2 separate regions of the Homo sapiens genome follow, and region 1 is linked to region 2. Evidence: promoter capture Hi-C in 16 types of primary human blood cells and fetal thymus (Javierre and others, 2016). All regions are on one chromosome and are shown on one strand. Each heading gives the region's core, a stretch centred on a gene start or on the middle of the fragment in contact. The rest is flanking DNA. Distances are from core to core; before and after follow the strand shown. Region 1 has its middle 24 kb from the start of LINC03076. Region 2 holds the start of GPR85 (G protein-coupled receptor 85).

What was found. The method cuts DNA at HindIII sites, captures the fragments that hold promoters and counts their contacts. A CHiCAGO score of 5 or more calls a contact.
Region 1: a contact is called between a fragment that was not itself captured here and the fragment with the promoter of GPR85 in region 2, in 1 of 17 cell types (neutrophils). The highest score is 5.9, in neutrophils.

What each region holds. Positions count from the first base shown.
Region 1 is chr7:112,590,934-112,597,370 of GRCh38, reverse strand. No RefSeq gene overlaps it. Among named protein-coding and RNA genes, the nearest start is that of LINC03076, 24 kb to the left of the region's middle. The HindIII fragment of the contact is 1,544 bases long and covers 3,033-4,576 here.
Region 2 is chr7:113,084,860-113,091,351 of GRCh38, reverse strand. It overlaps GPR85 (G protein-coupled receptor 85), which reads left to right and starts at 4,525. Exons shown (of 3, transcript NM_001146267.2): 1 at 4,525-5,030; 2 at 5,243-5,360; 3 at 6,461-6,492. RefSeq lists a silencer at 4,780-4,839. The HindIII fragment of the contact is 6,967 bases long and covers 1-4,647 here.

The DNA of each region.
Region 1 (6,437 bases), core at 2,555-5,054, 490 kb after region 2:
GGTTTTAAGGACCAACTTGGGAGTTATCACAGGGTTGAGGAAACAAGAGCGACCTAGAGAACAACTGAGGCCCCATAGCACTGCCAAGGATCTGAGTCACAAGTCAAGGATGTCACAGAACCCAAGAAAGTATGGGTTTCTTCTAGAAGTTAGAAGATGGAACTGGGATCAAAGTCAAACAGAATTGAATTCTGTTTGATCAGCATCCAGAAACAACACAGGAGTTGGCTGGCCAACCCTAGATGTACGCAGTTTGCTGGCTTCCTCAACAATGGGGCCAATAAACATCTCACCCTCTGAGATGGACCACTCTCACAATATAGGGCTTAGCTTGCCCTGAAGGATTGGAAAGAAGGAAGGAGTCTGCAGAAGATCACTTTTAAAAGACCAGAGTTATAAATTGCTTAAATTATTAATCTATAAGTTTATTATTTTGCGTTTTTTCCCAACGTCACGCATTGGGGGAAAAAATGGGATATAAAAAATGATGAATGCTAATAATAACTCAAAGCCACTACTTTAAATTATTTTAAATGTCATAAGCAAGTTTTCAGAATTAATAAGTCAGAAATGTATGCATGTTTCCATCAAGAGTTAAATACATAGTTTGGAGTGAAAATGAACAGCTATGAGATGTTTAATTACAAAAATATTTTTTGTGTGAGAGGATTCACTTTTGGTCTTGAAATGTAAAATTTGGCATTTTTATTTTTAGTCTACTTGATGTCCTTATGTGACCAGTGAGTTTATGTGTAAAAACAGTTACCATGGTGGCCAGAGACCTCCCTTTCTACGTAGATGAAATGTGAGTAGCAACGTTTTAGACCCATTGTTTTCAACTATGTTCCTTTTAAATGTGTCTTCCCTCTAATATTACAGCATAAAGATGATCCACAATGCACTTAAACTCTTTCCTTTTAATATCAAGATGACTCAGCCACCCTGTCCTGTACATAATAAGGTTGCAACATTTACAGATTACTCCTGTCAACTAAAAAGTGGTTAAAGTGAAAATTACCCAGTCCTGGCAGACATTCATGTGACCTAAGATTTGGTTTTTTTCTTAGGATTTATAACCTCGACAGTTAATTTTGCAGGCCTCTTTTAAAGCCTGTATTTTAGCACAAATTGACATTTAAGCAGCTTTTTAAAGCTCTAGTATAAAAATGTTAACACCGTCTGGGTTTTTTCCTATTAACATCACTTATTATTTATTATCATAGTTAGAGAAGTGAATCATTAATTTTCCCCTTTTCAACATTTTCTTGGGAATTGGAGGCAGTGGAGAAGACAGGACATCCTCAAATTTATTCCCTTCTTTAAAAAGAAAAAAATAAACTACTTAGATTAACATTAAAATCTTTTGTACAAAAAAAAAAAAGACAATGCAAAATGAAGACAAGCCACCAACTGGGAGTTGTAATACATTTAACAAAGGGCTAGTGTCCAGAGTATAGGTATGTTAATATATACAACTACAAATTATTAAGGAAAAGGTAAACTGCCAGTATGAAAATGGGAAGCAATATGAACTAGCAACTTGCAAAAGAGAGAGTTTGAATGGCATATTAAAAGATGCTCAATCTTTCCAGTAATTAGAAAAAATCAGATTAACACAATGAAATGCCATTTTATGCTCATAAGACTGGCAAAGATGTAAATGTCTAAGGGAGGAGGATAGTGCTGTGAATTAGTTTTGTGTGCTCAATATTTGCTGGGCCCTCACTTCCAGTCCAACAGCCACAACACCGTCCAGGCAAATGGCTCCTGGGCTTGGAAGGTGTGAGCTCTGGCCAGTCCTGAAGGAAAGAGGTGAGCCCAAGGAGCACCCAGGGACCCAAGGAGAAAGTCCTAGGAGGAAGAGCAGACCAGTAGCTGAGGCTTCTAGGGAAAAATTGGCCTGTAGAGATCTGTGTTCCCTGGCTAAGGACTGCTATTCTTTCTGTCCCCTGAGGAACTTCAGAGGAGTCATTCAGGTACCCAAATCTTCCTTTCCTAAAAGATGGAAGAATAACACCCTTAGCTGGCATTTTTGGTTTTATTTTGTTTATGGCTTGTATTAATTTTAATTTTATTGTTTAACTCTAAGAGCATAGTGTTTAGCTGATCTGAAGGAATGCACATTTATTACAAAGGGCCACAGAGGAATATCACAGGGGGACATCAGTCACATCACCATAGAGCCCAATCCATTTGGAAAGAAGAATGATAAGACCTGGGTTGACAAATAATGGGAAAGTAGACAGGAGCTCACTACACATGGTTCATACTATCTGTAGTCATATACAAAACATCATCAAAACTGGGAGACATCTTCCATTACAAGATGAAGTCCGTGTATCCTCACTTCCCCAACTATGTTATTATTCAGGAGAGTAGGTATCTTGAAATCTAAAATTGGTCATATATACACACACACACACACACATACACATACACATATGTGTGTGTGTGTGTGTGTGTGTGTGTGTATATATATATATATATATATACACACAAGTTTTGGATAAGGCCAGGCCATTACTTGTTCAATGTCTGAAGCCCAGAAAAATGAGTTAACTCTTGAAAGAAACAACTTTAAACTGTATTGAATTCAGCTGCTTCAATTCAACAAGCCCTGATAGTTGAGACCAAGGATATCAGAGAGGTTTCTAATAGTGTCTGTCTATAATAAAGGAATGGTTCAGCAGGCAGATGAATACCATCTGGGAGCTGCTCAGCTAAGGGAACAATGAGATGCTGAATGGTACTTAGGACCTATTGTGGTATTTAAAGAACACAGTCGAATTCGTCTAATGAAAAACAGATGTGAAGAGACAGTAAAGGCATTTGAGACATTTAAAATCATTTTTCTAAGTAATCCTTGCATTAAAGGAGAAGTTACATCTAAAATTACTAATAAAAATGAGCATCAATGAGAAGACTGCATTTCCTGTCTATGGCATGGGACCAAAGCAATACTCAGTAGAAACGCACAGCCTTAAGTGCATTTTTTAGAAAACAAGACAGACAGAAAATGAATGCGTTAAGCTTTCAACTCATGATGATAATAAAAAGAACAAAACAAAAAATTATAAATGAATTTTAAAAGATAAAAACAGAAATAGATTAAATACAAAATAACCCCTCAAAGGCAGACTGGATTAATTAAGATAAAGTTAGTTCTTTAAAAAGCCCAATAAAACTCAGAAGCCTCTGGCAATTCTCTCCAGACAGAGAAAGAAACAGAGAGAGAGAGAAGAACAGAAATAAGAATGCAAACATAGCCAAGGATGCAAATAATACTTATGAAACCACAAAAGAATCTATCTAATACTTATATCAATAAATCTAAAATTTTAGAGGAAATAATTGTTAGGGATGCATAGATTATTAAAGGAATATCAGAGAAAATGTACAACTGAATAGCCAAATAGCCACAGAAAAGACTTGAAAACATGGTTTTTAAAAACCTACTGTACAAAAAAGGGCATCAGTCCCAGACCATTGTGTGAGTGAGTTCTACAACCTTTAAAGGAAAGATATTTTTTCAAGTTTGACCTAATTCGTTTCAGGGTATTGAATTGATATAAAATTTCCTTATTTTTTCTATAAAGCTAGCACAACACCAAATTGAACAAAGACTATCCAAAATAACCTTTTTCTAAATCTCACATAAGATTATAAAAGGAAAAGTCTTCTTAAAAGATTACAAATCAAAAGTAGCAACATATTACAATAATATATCATAACCAAGTAGAACTTTTTACAAGAATGAAAGGGTGGTTAAATGATTAAATAATAAGAAATGTATTCATTTAATTTCTTATATAAATAAACAAAACCAGAAAATCTATTTGATTCATGCAATAATAGGTGCTGAAAAGGGAGTTGATAAAATTCCAAAACTACTCCTGAAATAAACTCAGTATATTAGTCCAGGTTCTCTGGAGGGACAGGACTAATAGGATAGATGTATATAGGAAAGGGAGCTTATTAGGGGGTATTGACTTACACGATCACAAAGTGAAGTCTCACAATAGGCTGTCTGCAAGGTGAGGAGCCAGGAAGCCATGCCAAGTCCCCAAAACCTCAAAAGTTGAGAAGCCAACAGTGCAGTCTTCAATCTGTGGCTGGAGGCCCGAGAGCCCCTGACAAACCACTGGTGTAAGTCCAAGAGTCCAAAAGCTGAAGAACTTGGAGTCTGATGTCTGAGGGCAGGAAGCATCCAGCACAGGAGAAAGATGAATGCCAGAAGACTCACCCAGTCTAGTCCTTCCACAATCCTCTGTCTGCTTTTATCCTAGCCGCACTGGCAGCTGATTAGATGGTACCCACCCAGATTGAGGGTGACTCTGCCTCTCCCAGTCCACTGACTCAAATGTTAATCTCCTTTGGCAACACCCTCACAGACACACCCAGAAACAATACTTTGCATCCTTCAATCTAAACAAGTTGACCCTAAATATTAACCACCACACTCAATAATCTAGGAATAGCATGAGAATAGGAATAGAATGAAAATAGCATGAGAATTTTTGCACATTGATTTTGTATCCTGTGATTTTGCTGAAGTCACTTATCAGCTTAAGAAGCTTTTAGGCTGAGTTTAAGAAGCTCAACCATTGAGATAACGGGATTTTCTAGATATAGAATCCTGTCATCTGCAAACAAAGATAGTTTGACTTCCTCTTTTCCTATTTGAATACACTTTATTTCTTTTTCTTGCCGATTGCCCTGGCCAGAACTTTCAACACTATGTTGAATAAGAGTGGTGAGAAAGGGCATCCTTGTCTTGTGCTTCTAGAAGGGAAATGCTTCTAGCTTTTGGCCATTCAGTATGGTGATATTGGCTGTAGTTTGTCATATATGGTTCTTATTATTTTGAGGTATGTTCTTTCAATACCTAGTTTATTGAGAGATTTTAACATGAAGGGATGTTGAATTTTATCAAAGGCCTTTTTTGCCTCTATTGAGATAATCATGTGGTTTTTGTCTTTAGTTCTGTTTATGTGATAAGTCATATTTATTGATTTGCACATGTTGAACCAACCTTACATCCTGGGATGAAGCCTACTTGATTGTGGTGGATAGGGTTTTGATATGCTGCTGGATTCAGCTTGCCAGTATTTTGTTGAGGGTTTTTGCATTGATATTCATCAAGGATATTGGCCTGAAGTTTTCTTTTTTATTGTATCTCTGCCAGGTTTTGGTATCAGGATGATGCTGGTCCCTTAGAATGAGTTAGAGAGGAGTCCCTCGTCAATTGTTTGGAATAGTTTCAGTAGGAATGGTACCAGCTCTTCTTTGAACCTCTGGCAGAATTCAGCTGTGCATCCATCTGGACCTGGGCATTTTTTGGTTGGTAGGATATTTATTACTGCCTCAATTTCAGAACTCATTATTGGTCTATTCAGGGATTCAATTTCTTCCTGGTTCAGCCTCGGGAGGGTGTATGTGTCCAGGAATTTATCCATTTCTTCTAGATTTTCTACTTCATTTGCATGGAGGTGTTTATAGTATTCTCTGGTGGTTGTATTTCTGTGGGGTCAGTGGTGATACCCTTCTTATCATTTCTAATTGTGTTTATTTGAGTCTTCTCTCTTTTCTTCTTTATTAGTCTAGCAGTTTATCCATTTTGTTAATTTTTTCAAAAAACCAGCTTGTGGATTCACTTATTTTTTGAAAGTTTTTGTTTGTTTGTTTGTTTTTTGTTGCTCTATCTGCTTCAGTTCAGTTCTGCTATTGGTTATTTCTTGTCTTCTGCTAGCTTCGAGGTTTGTTTGCTCTTGGTTCTCTAGTTCTTTTAGTTGAGATGTTAGGTTGTTAACTTGAGCTCTCTCTAGCTTTTTGATGTAGGCATTTAGTTCTATAAATTTCGCTCTTAACTCTGCTTTAGCTGCTTCCCAGAGATTCTGGTATATGGTATATTTGTTCTCATTAGTTTCAAAGAACTTGATTTCTGCCTTAATTTCATTATTTACCCAAAAGTCATTCAGGAGCAGATTTTTGAATTTCCATGTAGTTGTGTGGTTTGGAGTAAATTTTTTTTTTTTTTTTTTTTTTTTTTTTTTTTGAGACAGAGTCTCGCTCTGTCACCAGGCTGGAGTGCAGTGGCATGATCTCGGCTCACTGCAATCTCTGCCTCAAGCGATTCCCCAGCCTCAGCCTCCCGAGTAGCTGGGACTACAGGCATGCATTACCACACCCAGCTAATTTTTGTATTTTTAGTAGAGACGGGGTTTCACCATGTTGGCCAGGATGGTCTCGATCTCTTTTTTTTTTTTTTTTTTTGAGGTGGAGTCTCACTCTGTCGCCCAGGCTGGAGTGCAGTGGCGTGATCTCAACTCACTGCAAGCTCCACCTCCCAGGTTCACGCCATTCTCCTGCCTCAGCCTCCCAAGTAGCTGGGACTACAGGCGCCTGTCACCACATCTGGCTAATTTTTTTGTATTTTT
Region 2 (6,492 bases), core at 3,276-5,775:
AGTGTGATGTTCCCCTTCCTGTGTCCATGTGTTCTCATTGTTCAATTCCCACCTGTGAGTGAGAATATGTGGTGTTTGGTTTTTTGTTCTTGTGATAGTTTACTGAGAATGATGATTTCCAATTTCATTCATGTCCCTACAAAGGACATGAACTCATCATTTTTTATGGCTGCATAGTATTCCATGGTGTATATGTGCCACATTTTCTAAATCCAGTCTATCATTGTTGGACATTTGGGTTGGTTCCAAGTCTTTGCTATTGTGAATAGTGCCGCAATAAACATACATGTGCATGTGTCTTTATAGCAGCATGATTTATAGTCCTTTGGGTATATACCCAGTAATGGGATGGCTGGGTCAAATGGTATTTCTAGTTCTAGATCCCTGAGGAATCACCACACTGACTTGCACAATGGTTGAACTAGTTTACAGTCCCACCAACAGTGTAAAAGTGTTCCTGTTTCTCCACATCCTCTCCAGCACCTGTTGTTTCCTGACTTTTTAATGATTGCCATTCGAACTGGTGTGAGATGGTATCTCATTGTGGTTTTGATTTGCATTTCTCTGATGGCCAATGATGGTGAGCATTTTTTCATGTGTTTTTTGGCTACATAAATGTCTTCTTTTGAGAAGCGTCTGTTCATGCAAAAACTGGAAGCATTCCCTTTGAAAACTGGCACAAGACAGGGATGCCCTCTCTCACCACTCCTATTCAACATAGTGTTGGAAGTTCTGGCCAGGGCAATTAGGCAGGAGAAGGAAATAAAGGGTATTCAATTAGGAAAAGAGGAAGTCAAATTGTCCCTGTCTGCAGATGACATGATTGTATATCTAAAAAACCCCACTGTCACAGCCCAAAATCTCCTTAAGCTGATAAGCAACTTCAGCAAAGTCTCAGGATACAAAATCAATGTACAAAAATCACAAGCATTCTTATACATAAATAACAGACAAACAGAGAGCCAAATCATGAGTGAACTCCCATTCACAATTGCTTCAAAGAGAATAAAATACCTAGGAATCCAACTTACAAGGGATGTGAAGGACCTCTTCAAGGAGAAGTACAAACCACTGTTCAATGAAATAAAAGAGGATACAAAGAAATGGAAGAGCATTCCATGCTCATGGGTAGGAAGAATCAATATCATGAAAATGACCATACTGCCCAAGGTAATTTATAGATTCAATGCCATCCCCATCAAGCTACCAATGACTTTCTTCACAGAATTGGAAAAAACTACTTTAAAGTTCATATGGAACCAAAAAAGAGCCCGCATCGCCAAGTCAATCCTAAGCCGAAAGAACAAAGTTGGAGGCATCAAGCTACCTGACTTCAAACTATACTACAAGGCTACAGTAACCAAAACAGCATGGTACTGGTACCAAAACAGAGATATAGATCAATGGAACAGAACAGACGCCTCAGAAATAACGCCGCATATCTACAACTATCTGATCTTTGACAAACCTAAGAAAAACAAGCAATGGGAAAAGGATTCTCTATTTAATAAATGGTGCTGGGAAAACTGACCAGCCATATGTAGAAAGCTGAAACTGGATCCCTTCCTTACACCTTATACAAAAATTAATTCAAGATGGATTAAAGACTTAAACGTTAGACCGAAAACCATAAAAACCCTAGAAGAAAACCTAGGCAATACCATTCAGGACATAGGCATGGGCAAGGACTTCATGTCTAAAACACCAAAAGCAATGGCAACAAAAGCCAAAATTGACAAATGGGATCTAGTTAAACTAAAGAGCTTCTGCACAGCAAAAGACACTACCATCAGAGTGAACAGGCAACCTACAAAATGGGAGAAAATTTTCGCAACCTACTCATCTGACAAAGGGCTAATATCCAGAATCTACAATGAGCTCAAACAAATTTACAAGAAAAAAACAAACAACCCCATCAAAAAGATAGTTAAAGTTTTAAAGAAAACTTTAAAAAGGCTCTTTTTCATATACAACTTTAAATTTTGGTAACAGTTGAGAGCACCAAAGACACACGTTTTATGCTTTAAGCAGAAGACATGTCATTTGAAATGAATTACTAAAAATCTTTTATTTAGAATGTTTATTCTAGTCTATTATTCTCTGCAATTACCAAGTGTTATTTCCTGACACACACTTTCATGTAAACAATGCACAGAAAAAAACACTGTTTTTGCTGATCATGATACTATGCATCAGTTGGCAAAAATCTGAAATAGATTAATTTTGAAAGCAAGGTCATTGGTTTTTAAAATAAAATGGTATGTACTTTTTATAAGAACCAAATTAAGCAAATTATATCAGTTTTCCTAATACACTGATCAATATAGTACATGTAATATTCCAACAGTTTGTAAATCTTCAGAACCCTTCAAACCCAAGGATTAGAGCATATAGTTTTGTTGTATTTGCTTTGTTCTTTTACTCTTAACCTGAAAATCAAATTTTCTGGGTTTGGTGATGTAGGGGATAAAAAAAAAAGAAATTAGTTAAGACCAACTAAGCCTATGATCTAAACAATTTGAAGCAATAACTTTACATTTGAGAACTTGTAGATGATATGAAACTTTTGTCAGCTATTAAACATATTTTTTAAAGCCCTGCTGATGAAAGATGTAGCTTCCAATGTTTTCTCCAGTAGAGTTAATGAGCTAGATAGAAAATATCTCATTAATTTCTTGAGTCCCCTTGTGAGGCAAGAAAATGACATTCTTATCCAACAGCTGGAAAAGCTGAAGAATTAGTGGATGTAACTGTGCTCAACTGCAAAGGAAAAAAATAGCTTTACTATACCCTGAGATGTGGATATGAAAGAATATTGCATACACATATACCCTCTCCCTTATTTTTAAGGAATCAATATCTGCTTAAAGAATAAGACTAGTTAAAACCCTTGGATCTTGGCCCTATAACTTTTGGCAGAGTATATTACTGCTTCATGGCCTGGCAGTGCAGTGACTCTTTTAATTTACTTTAAAATAGCTTTTCCCTAATCTGTACAACCTAACATCTGACCAATCATGAATCTTCAGCAAACTTAAGCCTCTTATTCCATACATTTTTTAAAACTGTAAAAATTCAGGAAATAACTCTTTGCAAAGTACATTGAAGCATTTATTGGGAAGCAAAAAAGCACAAGTTGAAGTGATTTGTAGTTTCATAAAAACGAATTTGACATTTTACTTAGAAGTTGCAAACCACCACATGGTTTTGAGTTTTGAATTCATTTGCTTTGCAAAAAGTGGAATGTTTTATTTGAATGGAAATGCCCTCAAGTTACTTCCAGCATGGCTGTAGGATTGATTTTTCTAGGTTAAGGGAATGCCAAAGTTTAGTGCCTTGTGTATATTCTTTTCGAAAAAAACAAACTATTATCCATGTATTTAAATGGACGTAGGAAATTCAAGAACAAATCAGGGAAATTTAACATCATTTCAGTATTACCAACATAGGGCTTTGTGTAACGACTGTGACATCAAGATAAGGCTTTACCTCGGCTCATCCAATAGAAATACAGTATGTAAATTAACCCATATTATCTGTATGCTGATTGGCCTGAGTTCCCCTGAATGTCACAATCTCACCACCCAGCAATGAGGTATTTTACTGCTGTCTCAAGATCAGATTATTACTGTAGAGAAGATTTTTATTTTTTGTTTCATTAACAGATTATTATAAAGCAAAAAGCATGCAGAAAAAGAAGCAGACGTTTTACATTGGGAATTAATGAAAGCGTGTCTGCTAGTTTTGGGTAGGAGAACTGGGAAGTTGTTGCTTAAAATTTTATATCACCTCCACAAACAAAACTCTTCGGAAATGGTAAAATAAGAAAATGCATGATTCTAGAGGCATTCCTAAGCACCCACGTGTCAGGCTTTGTGGTGTCTGTGGTATCATCCGACCGTTTGGACTGGTGTAAGTTTTACGTATTTGTTATATTTCTAGTATTTTTCATCTGTAATAACAAAGGGGAAAAAAGGAAACTCGTACACATAACTGCTTTGACATCACCCATCATTGGTCAGCGGAACTTGTAAGAAGGGAAAAGGAATACTGTTGCTTGGTGGGGTGGAATGCCAGGAATAGCCATTTAAACATTTTATAAGCCTGATTCTTTAGTGACATCCTTTAAGGTAGACTGAATGTAAATCATATTGTAGTTGTCCTCTGAACTTAGCTTTCTCCCTACTTTTACGCATATTTGCGTGCATTGGAGAATAGAAGATGACTAACAAAGAGAGAGCTGCCCTAACGTGCCTTCCCTTCTTCCCCATTGAAAAGATTTTTAACTGTGGGAAAAAGATAAATAAATAAATAAATAACTTTTTTTCTTTTTTCCCATTCTTTTCTTGTCTTTTTCCAGCTAACCTGCAAATTTAAAGGTTAGCTGGAGACATCACTTAAAAATAAATATATAAAAGAAGCCTCCGGTGGTTTGGACCACCCTAAAAGAAAAGGGAAGAAAGTGTCTGGGGAAGGTTAGGGTTCCGGGAAGCTGAGGGAGGGGGCGGGCGTCACGGGCACTGTGACTTCCTCGTGCGCTGCCTTTGGGAAGAGGATGGGCCTGAGGTCCTGAAAGGGCCTTTCCAGCCCCCCACTACAAATGCGGGGAGGGAAAAGTTCAGAAGCAGCCACGAAGGGACAAAAGCTTAATGCTGCCAGTTGGATTGGACAGGGCAGTCAATAAACCCAGCCAGCTCTGGAGTCAGGTAGGGGTTCCTGCTGGTTCCACAGAGGCTGAAGCAGCCCCGCCGCCGCCCTCGCCACCGCAGCCGCCGCCGCCGCGGCCCCTGCGTTACTGGGGGAGACGGTGCCGCTGCGACAGGGGAGGACGCGGCTGGAGCTCAAGGAGGCTCCAGCGCGCAGGCGCCGCCGAGCCCTGCCTGGATGCTCAGTCAAGGCACTAAGGCAAAAAAAAAAAAAAAAAAAACAAAAAACAAAAAAAAAAAAAAAAAAAAGAAAAAGAAAAAAAGAAAAAAATCAGCAATTTATAGAAAGAAGCTATAGTCTGTCGGGATATCCAACACCAACAGGTAGGAGGATATACTCTTGGTTAAGTTTGGGGGATGTGGGGGAATGCACAGTGTTGATGAAACTGCAGGTTCACCGAGAAAGAGCCCTCCCTCAGGTTGTGTGTGTGTGTGTGTGTGTGTGTGTCTCTGTGTGTGTGTGTGTGTGTGTGTGTGTATGTGTTTTGTGACAATAAACTGCATAATGGAAGTACATTCAGACAATGCATCTTCAGTAGGGCTTACTGAGAGCTCCATTTCTGGAAAGCCTTACAAGACTGAGGAATATCAGACTGCGAATCACCGGGAACGGTTCCTTTGCAGCACAGAAGCAATCTCTCTCCCCATCTTCGCGTATGTAATGCATGTCTCTCTCCCTCTCCCCCTCCTCCACCCTCCCCCCATTATAAATCCAGGGGTGGCGGATTTCAGGTTTCGTAATGTTGCATGATGCGATCGGTATTTACCCGAGGATGTACCGGTGGGGAAATTAAAATCATCGAACGCAGTTTTGCCTGGGCTTCCACCAGCATATTCCGGGCCAGTGAGAAGTGGCAAAAGAAACACGCTTGGTGGGAATAACAGAGGAAGCCGATTTCCCTGGTGTGGTCCAGGCACCTGCGAGACAATGTGCATTTTGTTTTAAAAAGCAGCCACTTGTGATTTGCAACAAAGGTTATCAGTGTAAATGGGAAAGGCTTAATTGCCCAAGAAATACAGGTTCATGTTATATTCATTTGAATCCAGGCAGCCAAGGTTTACAAATGGAAGTGCATTATTCCTCTGGGTGTGTTTCCCTGTCCAATATTTACATTAACCATTTTAATAATCATGTGGGCTTAAAAGATTTGCCAGAAATGGGGGGTAGGGTGGAGAGGGAAAGACAAATGATTAAATCACATCAAATCTTGGGACAAGTAAGTTCCTATTAATTTTGAAGTTAATTTTGAAATTTTGCTTTAAGATGAATCAACAAATACTCTTATGCAGCATGAATAGTGGCACTTAAGATATATTTTGCACGGGTTCTTTGGACCCACATCAAACAGAGAAGCTGCCTGTGAAACACTGACAGATACTAATAGATCTCAAATAAATGTAGGTAGTGTCTCTGCCTCCTAATAGCAATCTTGTAGATTCCATTGCAATTCTAGTGGTTAATTCCTGGACTGGCATATTTTACAAGAATGGGACATTTTATTCCTTCTCTCCTAAAGTTACCCTATCAAATGTATATTGTCCAAAATAGGGACATTTTAAAATTCACTTAGCTTGAAAAACTAAACAAGCCAATTCTCTGAAATCTCGAGCAAAAATATTTAGTAAAGCAAATATTAGTATTCAAAATTAAAACTTTATTTGCTTCCCCATAAGTGAACAGCTTTGTTAGCACTGTCTGACATCATTGCTTGTTAACTTAAGAACTGATAGGTTTTTTTTTTTTTTTTTTTCAGATATTCTGATGGCAAAACAAGTGGAAGAAAAG